3 separate regions of the Homo sapiens genome follow, and regions 1 and 3 are each linked to region 2. Evidence: promoter capture Hi-C in 16 types of primary human blood cells and fetal thymus (Javierre and others, 2016). All regions are on one chromosome and are shown on one strand. Each heading gives the region's core, a stretch centred on a gene start or on the middle of the fragment in contact. The rest is flanking DNA. Distances are from core to core; before and after follow the strand shown.

Region 1 (3,980 bases), core at 986-3,485, 570 kb after region 2:
AGGCCAAATTAGAATGAACAGCTCAAGGGTGTTGAAAAGTGAATTTACAGAGTTAAATTAAAGAGGGTGTGAGGCATAGTGATGTGAATTTTTTATAGTCTCACCGTTGGAACTGAGCAGGTGGCTTAGGAAGCTAGAGAAGTGCGGTGCTAAGAGGAGAAATACAGGTGGACCATCGAATTAAAGACAGAAGCTTGGAGGGGAGCTTGAGATGGATCATGAAATCTAAATTAAAAGCATTGAAATAAATTTAAGACTTAGAAGGACCAGAAGGCAGGAGACTCAAGTTATGTACTTTTCACTGAAGTACTGGGGGAAGGTCTGTCTGAAAGGGATCCTTTACATATCGATTAAGGTAGTGGAGTCTGTTTTGAGAAAAGGCCTTAAAATGCACATAAACATGGCACAGTTAATAGTCTGGAGGAACAAAAGATAACATTCTTTTCCAAATAAATGACTACCATTTATCTTGATTTACTCTGTATCCATCTGTCAAGGCCTGAGCCAGTGTCAAGTGTTCTGTCCATTGTGCATGTGATTGTCTACTCTCTCTCTTTCTCTCCTCTCTGTGTCTTTTATAACTTGTCTTTCATTCTTCAGATTAGAACAAGAGTGCATCATCACTATTAATGTTAAAAAGTAAAGAGGTGCTCACCTAGACAAATAGGCCCAGGAATTTTGAGATTAAAATTATATATCAGCTTTTGAGAAGGGCAGTGGAAACAGTGCCAGCAGCACTCAGATAGGTCATAAGGAATGAACAGATCAGGAAGATGCTGAGACCGCATGTGTATCAACCATAGAATACTGTTGCATTCTGTGGCATTTGGGGACCAGTTTGAATACAGCATTTAAAATAAACAAGGCAATCCATTCTCTTTCCCCTCAGAGGTTTCTTCCTGGGGGAATACTGCATTATGTTGTATACTGGTTTTCTGAAGGGATCCTATGGAGAGACAGTTGTTAAGGACTAAATTGTTCAGTGATCATAAAAAAATTATTTATAAGTATGCATTTTACCGTTTTGTTCCTGCTGATCAATGTTATACACTAATATGCCTTTGGCATATTTGATATGAGTTATCCAATTTGACATGAAGATTCTCTTAGAAATTGCTGTATATCCTCAGCTGCTTTGATGGATTGGTAGTTAATTATTTGGTACAGTTCTGTTTAAAAGTCAGAGTTTTTGCACCTAGATATAGAAAGACATTTAACCCCATGATTTTGGGGGAAGCCATAGGGCTCTGGCACCAACATGATGACAAAATTGTTGTGGGAAAACTGAATGAAATACTTGCCTACTATACTATTATTGTCTCTCAAGAACAGCCACATAACAGTTTCTGTTGTTCTGTGACCTATGGTGTTTGAGTTGCTTATGTCCATAGACATACCACGTCCCATAGACAAGGTTCCCACATGTGTCTGGCAGTGCGCGATGTGATGCTTATACTTCTGAGAAAAACAAAAACCAAAAAGCCCACATATAAATAGTAACTTGATGGGAGTCATCTTTGATTCTTTCCTTGCTCTCACCCTCATATGCAATCCTTCAATGATTTCTGTTGGTTCAACATTTAAAATAGATCTGAATTTTTCTGTTCTTTTCAGTTTTGCGGTCACATTTTTGTCCAGGGAATCATCACCTCTTGCATAGACACTGCAGCAGTCTCTGCTTTTTAAGTATTTCTTCATAGAGAGGCACCATTGATCATCATAAAGTGTAAATTGGATCATGTCCTTCCTCTGCTGAAAACTTCCCATTGTCCTAAGAATAAAACCTCAATTGGGCATCATGGCCCAGTGTCTTTCTAGTCCTGTGATGTGCCATTCTCTCCTTGCTCACTTTACTCCAGATACATTGATATTGGAGTTCCTTGGTGCTAAAACCTTTTCTGCCTCAGGGCCTTTGTTCATGCAAACTTGTCTTCCTGAAATGGTCAGCCCATTCTTGTCCTGGTTAGTTTTTCTGTTCCTGTATGTTCTGGCTTTTAAATTTTACCTCTTCAGAGAGTCCTTTCCTTACTACTCTCTCTAGTGCAGATTCCCCTTCATTATTCTTTCCCAACGCCTTATGTTTCCTTCAGAATATATGTTTTAACATGTGATTTTTGAGAGCTTACAGGTTTGTCTTGAGCTGTTGCTGGATTGTAAACTCCGTGAGAGCAAAGATCAGGTTGTCTTGTTCACTTTGTTATCTTTGGCGCCGCACAATGCCTGGCACATAGTGTGTTTTTCATACGTGTTTATTGAGGAGTAACTGAATGAATGAATTACTACAGAGAAAGACGTAAGCATTGCTTTAATTGGTCTAAATATTTCTTATATCCTAGATAGAGATCCAGCTGATTTTCTTGTTTTTAAGCCTGGAACATCGTATTTATATTTCCCTGCCCTGCCTTTCTCCCTTGGCACATAAAATCTGGTCTTCGCTTTTAATTATCCCACTTTGGAAAGTGCCTCATTATTTTGTCTATCGCCAAAGTGGGATTTTGGTCTGGGTAGGTAACTCCCAAGTGTGTGCAGCTGCTTGTTAACCACAGGTGAGGGATGAAACTGAACCGCAAGGCACATTAATTTTTTATATACACTTAAAAATGCTCACTGTTCCACAGAGCAGGCAGCCCCCCTTCAGAAGCCATATTAAGGTGACATGAGCTGGCACCGTGGCACATGCCTATAGTCCCAGGTGCTCCAGAGGCTGAGGTGGGAGGATCATCAGAGCCCAGGAGTTTGAAGCTGTAGTGCTCTATGATTGCCCCTGTGAATAGCTGCTGTGCTTCATCCGTGGCAATATAGTGAGACCCTGTCTCTACAAAAACATGAAAGGGCATTTATAAGAAGTAAACGAAATATCTTCCAGTATTTAGGCACATTAAGGAGATGGCATAATTAACAGGTTCATTTAGTTTATAACCTAACGCTTTCTATTTTCTTCATGGCTTTGGTGTCAAGACCGGGTTTCTAAAAAATAAATGAGTGTTTGATTTTTACACATTTGGAGCTCTGAGGAGGAAGCGAGCTAGCTTCGTATCCCCCTCTGAGCTCAGCAGCAGCTCCAAGTCCTTTCACAGCTGCTATTCCCAGTGTGGCGTCAGAGCTGGTGTCCCAGCTGGGGACACAGAGAAGGAAACGTGTGTGAGAGCGTGGTGCACTGAGCCATGGGGAGAGAGAAGCTGGGGAAGGAAAGTGAAATGGAAGAACAAGCAGGAGAGACAAGGGAATGAGGAGGTGGTGTGGAGTGGGTGGTTGAGAGAAAAGTTAGATTGTGCTCTTTCTTAAAAATAATCCTTTTGCCTCCTCCACTGTGCATTTTTTTTTTCTAAGTTAGCAGCTGCCATCCTCTGAGGGTTGCCCAAAAAGTGGGTGGGAAGGTGGTCCTGGCTGAGATAGGCTTTGGAAACACAGCATACCTTCCCAGCCTACATGGTTTTGGCCTCTGTGCCTCCCATTTTGTTAGTGTCCAGGGATACTTATGGGGGCATCACAGGCTACTTTGTGACTGTAGAGATCCTGAAGATGTGTAAGATGGTAGGAAACAAAGCTACAAACAGAACATCGTGTTCAGCATTTTGATCTGATGTGTAAGATATTTCTTGACAAGCATGAACATGCATTCATGCTTGGAGGTGCTAACTGCCTCTCACACACAGGTCTTGCCCGTTGTGGAATCATAGCGCTAGGTATGTCCATACAGACACTCATTCAGTCTTGTGGTATTCTTTTTTAGCTTTTTGGATGTGTACCAGAACTGATGGATTTATGCTAGTGAACATTGTTCTGTGAGCCTGGGACAATGGATGCTGGTTGGTGATCCAGTTATATTCAGGAAACTGAAACAGAGAAATGGGCAGCTGCTTTTGTTTGGTGCTTCCGGGTAAATGAACAGAGTAGCTTTTCATAAGAGCCAAGAATATTTGGTGTTGTGTCATTTGACTTCCCCTTTTCCCAGTGCACACCCCTCCCAACCTGACCTC
Region 2 (4,118 bases), core at 800-3,299:
AATGAAAATTTAACATTTAAAGTAAGGAAATAACTACAATTCCAGCATAGATGTCATATTCTTTAAGCAATATTCCCAAAACAGCAATCTAAAGGTTATCTCTTATCCTTCTGTTCTCTTACAGCACCGGGTTTACATCATACACTGCCTTGTATTCCAGTAATCTGTATGAGTGTCTTCTTTTCTACCTGATTATACAGTCCTTAACTGGCTGATTCATCACTATTGTCTGTAGCATTCTACAACAAACAGTAAGCAGTTAATATCTGCTAAATGACAAAATGTACTAAAATTTACATTAAAAAATAAATTCATGCTTACCATCAGAACATAACTTTTGCCCACAACTTTCTAATTTAATTTTATTTTCTAAAATCTTGTAAAAATTTCAAAATGTTTCGGACACCTTTAGGCACTTGGAAAATGTTTATTTCAAAGTATCACTTTTCTAACATTTTGCATTATTTTTATTAACCTAATGACACTATACTTTCTGAAAAGAAATTGTCACCATTGGCTGGGCGCGGTGACTCACGCCTGTAATCAATCCCAGCACTTTGGGAGGCCGAGGCGGGCGTATCACGAGGTCAGGAGATGGAGACCATCCTGGCCAACATGATGAAACCCCGTCTCTACTAAAAATACAAAAATTAGCTGGGAGTGGTGGCGCGTGCCTGTAATGCCAGCTACTCGGGAGGCTGAGGGAGGAGAATCACTTGAACCAGGGGGTCGGAGGTTGCAGTGGGCCGAGATTGCCACTGCACTCCAGCCTGGCAACAGAGCGAGCCTCCGTCTCAAAAAAAAAAAAAGAAAAAAAGAAAAAGAAAAAAGAAACAAAAAACAAAAGAAAAAGAAATTGTCACCATTAATTTTATTTTATTTATTTATTTATTTATTTTGAGACAGAGTCTCTGTCTGTCGCCCAGGCTAGAGTGCAGTGGTGCGATATCGGCTTACTGCCACCTCCGCCTCCCGGGTTCAAGTGATTCTCCTGCCTCAACCTCCCGAGTAGCTGGGATTACAGGTACCCGCCACCACGCCCCGCTAATTTTTTGTATTTGTAGTAGAGACTGGGTTTCCCCATGTTGGCCAGGCTGGTTTTGCACTCCTGACCTCAAGTGATCCACCCACTTCGGCCTCCCAAAGTGCTTAGGATTATGGGCATGAGCCACCGCGCCCAGCCATGTCACCATTAATTTTAGCAACGTATCAAAAGTTCAGCTTCCAACTACCTACATTAAAAGGTATAATAATACTAACCCTGAACCTTACATATGTAATGCCTAAAAACTTACACCCTGAATTACTCTAACATTACAGGGCAGACTTCCTTGAGAAGAGTCAGACCCTGCAGCGGGGCTCTGCCTTCCCACTGTCAGCCTCGGGGTCATCTAGCTTTATCGATCCCCATGGAGCGGGTCACCGAGCCCTGTGAGCAGGGAGAGGGCGATGGGGATGAGTAAACCCGAGCCGGAGGCCCGGCCTGCGCTCTCGCCCGGAAACCTCCCGTGGGATTCTGGAGTCCAGCGGCGCTGCCTGAGGCTGTGGTACCCAGAAATATGGTATTGGGGGTGGGGGTGAAATGAGAGGAAAGCAATCTGATTAACTTCCAGCCTGATAAGCAGAAAAGAGAAAACAAGGGAGCAGGAAAACTACGCTAGCACTAGACTGCCGGTCGCAAGCGCCGGGTACACACGCAGTTAAACCTCAATGGAACGCCCCCGGGACTTCTCCGGGGCGTAAAGCGCAGCGCCCTCTATTGGCCATCGGGACCTCGCCTGGAGGTGCCGTCAGGATTCCGTCCCCCAGCCACTCCCAGGCACTCGAGAGTAAGCGCATTAGCCCGAGAAAGCGTTCTGTGGAACGGAACTTCCTTATCCTATCGTTTCCACACGGAAAGATTTTAATTCACCGGAATCGACTGGCGTTAAAGGGCACAGTGAAAAGGAAGTTGGTATCAACGTGATCTCGACTAAGGGACCGAGCGGAAGTCCTCAATCGTACGCCACGCGGAGAGCATGCTGGGGGCCGGAAGGAAGAGGAAATTCCAGTAGCCGATCAGGAGTCTGCAAACTCCGGTGGTAGGGGAGCGCGCTGCTGTTTAGAGCCACGAGTTACCGGAGCGCCTGATTCCTGCGCCGAAGTCAGTGGTGGCCGAAAGTCCGGAGTCGCTGTAAAACCTGAGATTGTGAGCCATGGTGGGGAGATCCCGGCGGCGCGGAGCAGCTAAGTGGGCAGCTGTGCGAGCCAAGGCAGGTCCCACGCTCACCGACGAAAATGGAGATGATTTAGGATTGCCACCCTCACCAGGGGACACCAGCTACTACCAAGATCAGGTAGATGACTTTCATGAGGCACGATCCCGGGCCGCCTTAGCTAAGGGCTGGAATGAAGTACAGAGTGGAGACGAGGAGGATGGCGAGGAGGAGGAGGAGGAGGTGCTAGCCCTAGATATGGACGATGAGGACGACGAAGATGGAGGGAATGCGGGGGAGGAGGAGGAGGAGGAGAATGCCGATGATGATGGTGGGAGCTCCGTGCAAAGTGAAGCTGAGGCCTCTGTGGATCCCAGTTTGTCGTGGGGTCAGAGGAAAAAACTTTACTATGACACGGACTATGGTTCCAAGTCCCGAGGCCGGCAGAGTCAACAGGAGGCAGAGGAGGAGGAAAGAGAGGAGGAGGAGGAGGCACAGATCATTCAGCGGCGCCTAGCCCAAGCGCTGCAAGAGGATGATTTTGGTGTCGCCTGGGTTGAGGCCTTTGCAAAACCAGTGCCTCAGGTAGATGAGGCTGAGACACGGGTCGTGAAGGATTTGGCTAAAGTTTCAGTGAAAGAGAAGCTGAAAATGTTGCGAAAGGAATCACCAGAACTCTTGGAGCTGATAGAAGACCTGAAAGTCAAGTTGACAGAGGTTAAGGATGAGCTGGAGCCATTGTTAGAGTTGGTGGAACAAGGGATCATTCCACCCGGAAAAGGAAGCCAATACTTGAGGACCAAGTACAACCTCTACTTGAATTATTGCTCGAACATCAGTTTTTATTTGATCCTGAAAGCTAGGAGAGTCCCAGCACATGGACATCCTGTCATAGAAAGGCTTGTTACCTACCGAAATTTGATCAACAAGCTGTCCGTTGTGGATCAGAAGCTGTCCTCAGAAATTCGTCATCTGTTGACACTTAAGGATGATGCTGTAAAGAAAGAACTGATTCCAAAAGCAAAATCCACCAAGCCCAAACCAAAGTCTGTTTCAAAGACTTCTGCTGCTGCCTGTGCTGTTACAGATCTTTCTGATGATTCTGATTTTGATGAAAAAGCAAAACTGAAGTACTATAAAGAAATAGAAGACAGGCAAAAGCTAAAGAGAAAGAAAGAAGAAAATAGCACTGAAGAACAGGCTCTTGAAGATCAAAATGCAAAGAGAGCTATTACCTATCAAATTGCTAAAAATAGGGGACTTACTCCTAGGAGAAAGAAGATTGATCGCAATCCCAGAGTGAAACACAGAGAGAAGTTCAGAAGAGCCAAAATTAGAAGAAGAGGCCAGGTTCGTGAAGTTCGTAAAGAAGAGCAACGTTATAGTGGTGAATTATCTGGCATTCGTGCAGGAGTTAAAAAGAGCATTAAGCTTAAATGAAGTTTTTGCTTAGCATAAGGTTTTTGGCAGTTTTGGATCAATAAATTTTTACTTTTAACTAAAGTCATTGTATTAATATATAATACTTTAAATTTTAAAAATTCTTGTCCACAAGGAAATTTGTCTGGGTTATTGGACAATTTATAAGAACTATGGGAGCAATATGAAGGTGCTTGAGAAAAGAGATGATGTTGAAGTTTTCCAATATTCTGTTGAAGTTTTCCAATATTAAGTATTAGCTTAGGGAAATTTCACAGTTCATTGTGGAGTGTTAAACTTAGAACATGTGTAACTTTTCACATAAAGAGAATGCATCTTTGACAGTTATCTTATTTGTAAGGCAGCCTATAAAATAGTTCTGAAGTATTTTATTTACCTAACTATAATTATTGGGCCAGATACTTGTTAATAAATGGGCTTAATGTTAACATGGATTTCATATGTTCTGTGTGGTTTAAAAGCATAGGAATGAAACTTTGGTTA
Region 3 (4,134 bases), core at 689-3,188, 930 kb before region 2:
TATTTTTACAAGCTCCAAATACCATCATTTTAATTCATTATAATTTTCTCCAATGTCACAAAGCTAACATTTCACAATTGAATTATTAATAACCCTACACCCAAATGTGTTCCTCTCCAAGTACTTTTCCTTGCAAGCGAATGGTTCCATAGTCCACTTGCTTGATGAAAAATAAAACTGTCATTTTTCTTTCATTTTCTTCATATTTCTTTTACAGTCCATCAACAAGTCACAAATATGTCTTATCTAGCATCCTCAATTCCACCTCTACCAAGCAACCTGTGGAGTCTTTGTATTTAAAACAACAACAAAAAACAAAAACTCTATATAATTTTTCTTTGCATAAAACCCTTCAATATCTTCCTCAATGTTCTTGGAATAAAATGAGAAAATGTTTTAAGAATTACAAGTCCTACATGGTCTATCCTAGCCTAATTTCCAATTGTTTTGCATCCCACTTTTTCCTTCTTTCATGGATCATTTTAGTCTCCGGACTATATCAAGATCTTCCTGGAATATGCTTTCCAGGACTGTATCCTGGGATATTCTTTCCCCAAGTATGTACAACTTTTTAATCTCAATTTGGAGTAGATACCCCTTGTTAAATTAAGTTTAGACTAAAGCTGTCATCTTACACATTTTAAGTTTGGCTTAAAGGTTTCTCTATACATAGTGAATTGTAACCTAACTGGATGTGTAAACATATTACATTCTACCCTTGTGCGAATCACCAAGTTTTGGCCAATCAAAGGTGGCCAGCTCTTCAGACTGTGTTCAAATAAGTCAGACACTAAACTTTAACTAAACCAGCTGTTTCTATATCTCAAGTCTGTTCTCTGTATGTCACATTCCTTCCTTCCATAAACCATGTAGCTATTCTGGAATCTCTGAGGCTATTTTGGCTCAAGAGGCTGCCTGATTTGTGAATTGTCCTTTGCTCAATTAAACTCATTTAATTTGTCTAAGTTTTTTTCCTTTATTACCCACTTAAAGTAAGCTTTCCTATTGTTCGCTTCCACAGAACCCTATTATTTGACTATGTAAGACTATGAACATTGACATATTGTTATTTACTTTTTGACGTCACAATATTGCTGTAAGCTCCCTGTGATACAATATACAATTTCTAATCTTATATATCTATACCATAGCACAGTGAATAATTCTTTACAAGCATTCCATAAATATTTTGTGGAAGAAAAATTAATAGTATTAGTGAATTTTATGTTTTAAGAAAAGTTGCTTCTTATTTATTAATTACAACAAAGTCCTAAATTAGGAACTTACTAATCTAATCAGACAAATTCTACCAAATAAAAGTCTTAAAAATATTGTTTATTTTATCAATCAAATTTTTAATTGTTTTGTACAGTAAGACTCTTTCATCTTTGATATCATACCTGGATGTACAACAGATAAAAATAAAGTTTCTTCTTATTCTTCAGTTTTATATTGTTTGCCACCTTCCATTTTATGTCACCAAATCTACTCCGGTTTCAGTGAAAGTCACACATACAATAATGCATATGCTGTCTAAATAATATTACAAAATAATAATTCCAAGTGGGTTAAATTTACCTGATGTTCTTAATCCAGGGAGAGTCATTTCCAACATTGGAACTTTTTCAGTAATAAAACCTCGCTTACATTTTTCAATATCTCCATCATTTAGAATCATGTCTATAATTTCACTAACCCAAGTAGTACCTGTGACAAAAGGCAACATTTTCAAAATAATTACCCAAATTGCACGGGAGAGGGAGAAGAATTTATTGGAAACACTACCATCTTAACACATTCTATTACAAACTTAATTCCCCTTTCTATGCACCAAATGCCAATTTTAATATACTAAAATAGATGGCTGCACAAAATGAATATTAACTTTATTTAGAATGGTAATGATTTTATGGACAAGTTGATTTCCAGGAAACAAAAAATGAGGTCGGACTTGAATTTGTCAGGCCACAGAACTCACCTGATTTAGGATAAGTGGCTATCACAATGTCATCTGGTCTGCTATGGAACTGTTCAATTTTTTCCCAGTTGCTTGCAAAAGCACAGGTCATGGGATAACCATGGACCAACTTCAGATCTTTTCGCAGAATATCTTTTGGGGAAAGCATTTTAATACCAGATTGTACAAATATATAATAGATTGACAGTTGTTCTGGAGAAATATAGAGAATAAAAATCAGAATCTGAGTAACTAATGTTGGTCTTAAGACACTGCAATTTGTCACAAAGTAAAATTGGCCTTTAACATTCTGCGCACATGGAGATCTAAGTACAAAGGGCATATTTTGTGGGCATTAGGTGCAGTAGATTGCAAGAGCAGTAACTGGCTCTGTGACAAGCAGGACAAAGGTCTCTAGTGGAAGTTTTGGAAAGAAATGAAACTGCATATCTCTCTTTGAATTAAAAAGCGTGTTTCACAGAAATATGGCAAAAACAATCTGAACAATCTGACTTAAGGCAAAATAAATCCACTGCTCATTATTAAGACTTCAGCTACACGTCATTTTTCCTTACAGAAAATTTGCTGTCATTCTGACCTTTGATTTTCAGTTTGTAATTCATCCTTTTTCTTTGTGTGCTTCTAAGGTTTCTTTCTTTATCACTTATTTTGAGCAAGTAGATTATAATGTTCCTAGGTGTGGTTATTTTCATGTGTGTGTGTGTGCACGCGCGTATACATTTTAGCTTTATTGAGCTTCTTGAAATTGTGAGTTTACGGTTTCCATCAAATTTGGATAATTTTCAGCCATTATTTCTTCAAATATTTTTTCCATCTCTCTCTCCTTCTGAGACTATAATTACATGTATATTAGGCCATATGAAGTTGCCCACAGCTGAGAGATTATCTATTTAGTTTTTTAAAAAGCTTTTCTCTGTGTGTGTTTCATTTGGGATATTCTCTATTGCTATGTCTTTGTAATTACTAACCTTTTCTTCTGCAATGTTTAATCTGTCTTTACTCCTATCCAGTGTATTTTTATCTCTGGCTTTGTAGTTTTAATCTCTGGCTGTTCAATTTCAATATGTTTATTTTTTTGTTCTCAACTTTTTAAGCATACTAAGTACGGTTATAATGATTTTTTTCTTTGTTTAACATCTGGGTAATTCTATGTTGTTTTCAATTGATTGATTTTTTTCTCATTATGGTAGGCTTTTTCTCCTTGTTTACATGTCTGATAATTTTTTATTGGATGCTTGGTGTTCCTGTTAACTTCTTCTTGATTAGAAGCTGTCATTGATAATTTTTTGTGTCAACCTGACTGTGCCAAGGAGTCCCCAGACATTTGGCCAAACACTACTCAGAGTGTTTCTGTATTGGTGTTTTAGGACTAGATTAATATTTAAATTGGTAGACTGAGTGATTGTCCTGCCTAAGTGGGTGATCTTCAGCCAATTAGTTGAAGTCTGAGTAGAACAAAAAGGGTGATGCTCCTAGGAGTATTCCTTCTACCTAATTGCCTTTGAGCTTTAATCAAAACATCGTTGTTTTTTGTTTGTTTCTTTATTCCTGCCTGCAGACTCAAACTGAAGCATTGCTCTTCCTGGATCTCCAGCCTGCCAGCCTTTTGACTAGAGCTAAACCATCAGCTCTACTGGGTCTCCAGTTTTCCAGGTCACCCTACATATCCTGGAATATGCCTGCATACCTGCCTCTAAAATAATGTCATATATGTATGTGTTCAAAGGCAGTCAGACAGGAAGAATTCCTCTTTACTTCCAGGAGAGTCACCCTTTTGGTTCTATTCAGGCCTTCAACTGATTGCGTGAGTCCCATTCACATTAGGGAAGGCAATCTGCTGTACTCAATCTGCCAATTTAAATTTTAATCTCATCTGAAAACACCCTCACAGACACACACACACACACACAGACACACACACACACACACAAAGTAATTTTTCATCAGACATCTGGGTTTCCTGTGGCCCCATCAATTGGACACATAAAATTGGCATCACAAAGAGCTACTTATTATTTATTTTTTCCACTATTTCCACTGAACTTTGTAAGTAAAACCATAGCCTTGCTTTTAATAATGTTTTTTCATTTTACATCAACTTTATTTATTTTACAATTTATAGATTCCTTCATAATCGATGTTCCATTTATTTCTTA

Evidence for each region. Contacts are between HindIII fragments. The CHiCAGO score rates a contact against its expected background, and 5 or more counts as called.
Region 1: a contact is called between a fragment that was not itself captured here and the fragment with the promoter of UTP3 in region 2, in 1 of 17 cell types (monocytes). The highest score is 7.2, in monocytes.
Region 3: a fragment that was not itself captured here is called in contact with the fragment with the promoter of UTP3 in region 2 in 1 of 17 cell types (monocytes); the score reaches 5.6 in monocytes.

The regions. Positions count from the first base shown.
Region 1 is chr4:71,256,324-71,260,303 of GRCh38, forward strand. All of the region lies in intron 3 of SLC4A4 (solute carrier family 4 member 4), which reads left to right. Among named protein-coding and RNA genes, the nearest start is that of SLC4A4, 71 kb to the left of the region's middle. The HindIII fragment of the contact is 4,088 bases long and covers 192-3,980 here.
Region 2 is chr4:70,686,483-70,690,600 of GRCh38, forward strand. It overlaps UTP3 (UTP3 small subunit processome component), which reads left to right and starts at 2,050. Exons shown (of 1, transcript NM_020368.3): 1 at 2,050-4,069. The coding sequence starts at 2,196. The coding sequence ends at 3,635. LOC101927297 (a long non-coding RNA gene) reads left to right here. Exons shown (of 4, transcript XR_938860.3): 4 at 125-334. RefSeq lists enhancers at 975-1,945, 1,326-1,415, 1,946-2,914, 2,116-2,175. The HindIII fragment of the contact is 6,672 bases long and covers 1-3,624 here.
Region 3 is chr4:69,753,092-69,757,225 of GRCh38, forward strand. It overlaps SULT1B1 (sulfotransferase family 1B member 1), which reads right to left. Exons shown (of 8, transcript NM_014465.4): 2 at 1,979-2,170; 3 at 1,579-1,707. The coding sequence starts at 2,126. Among named protein-coding and RNA genes, the nearest start is that of SULT1B1, 5.5 kb to the right of the region's middle. The HindIII fragment of the contact is 1,887 bases long and covers 996-2,882 here.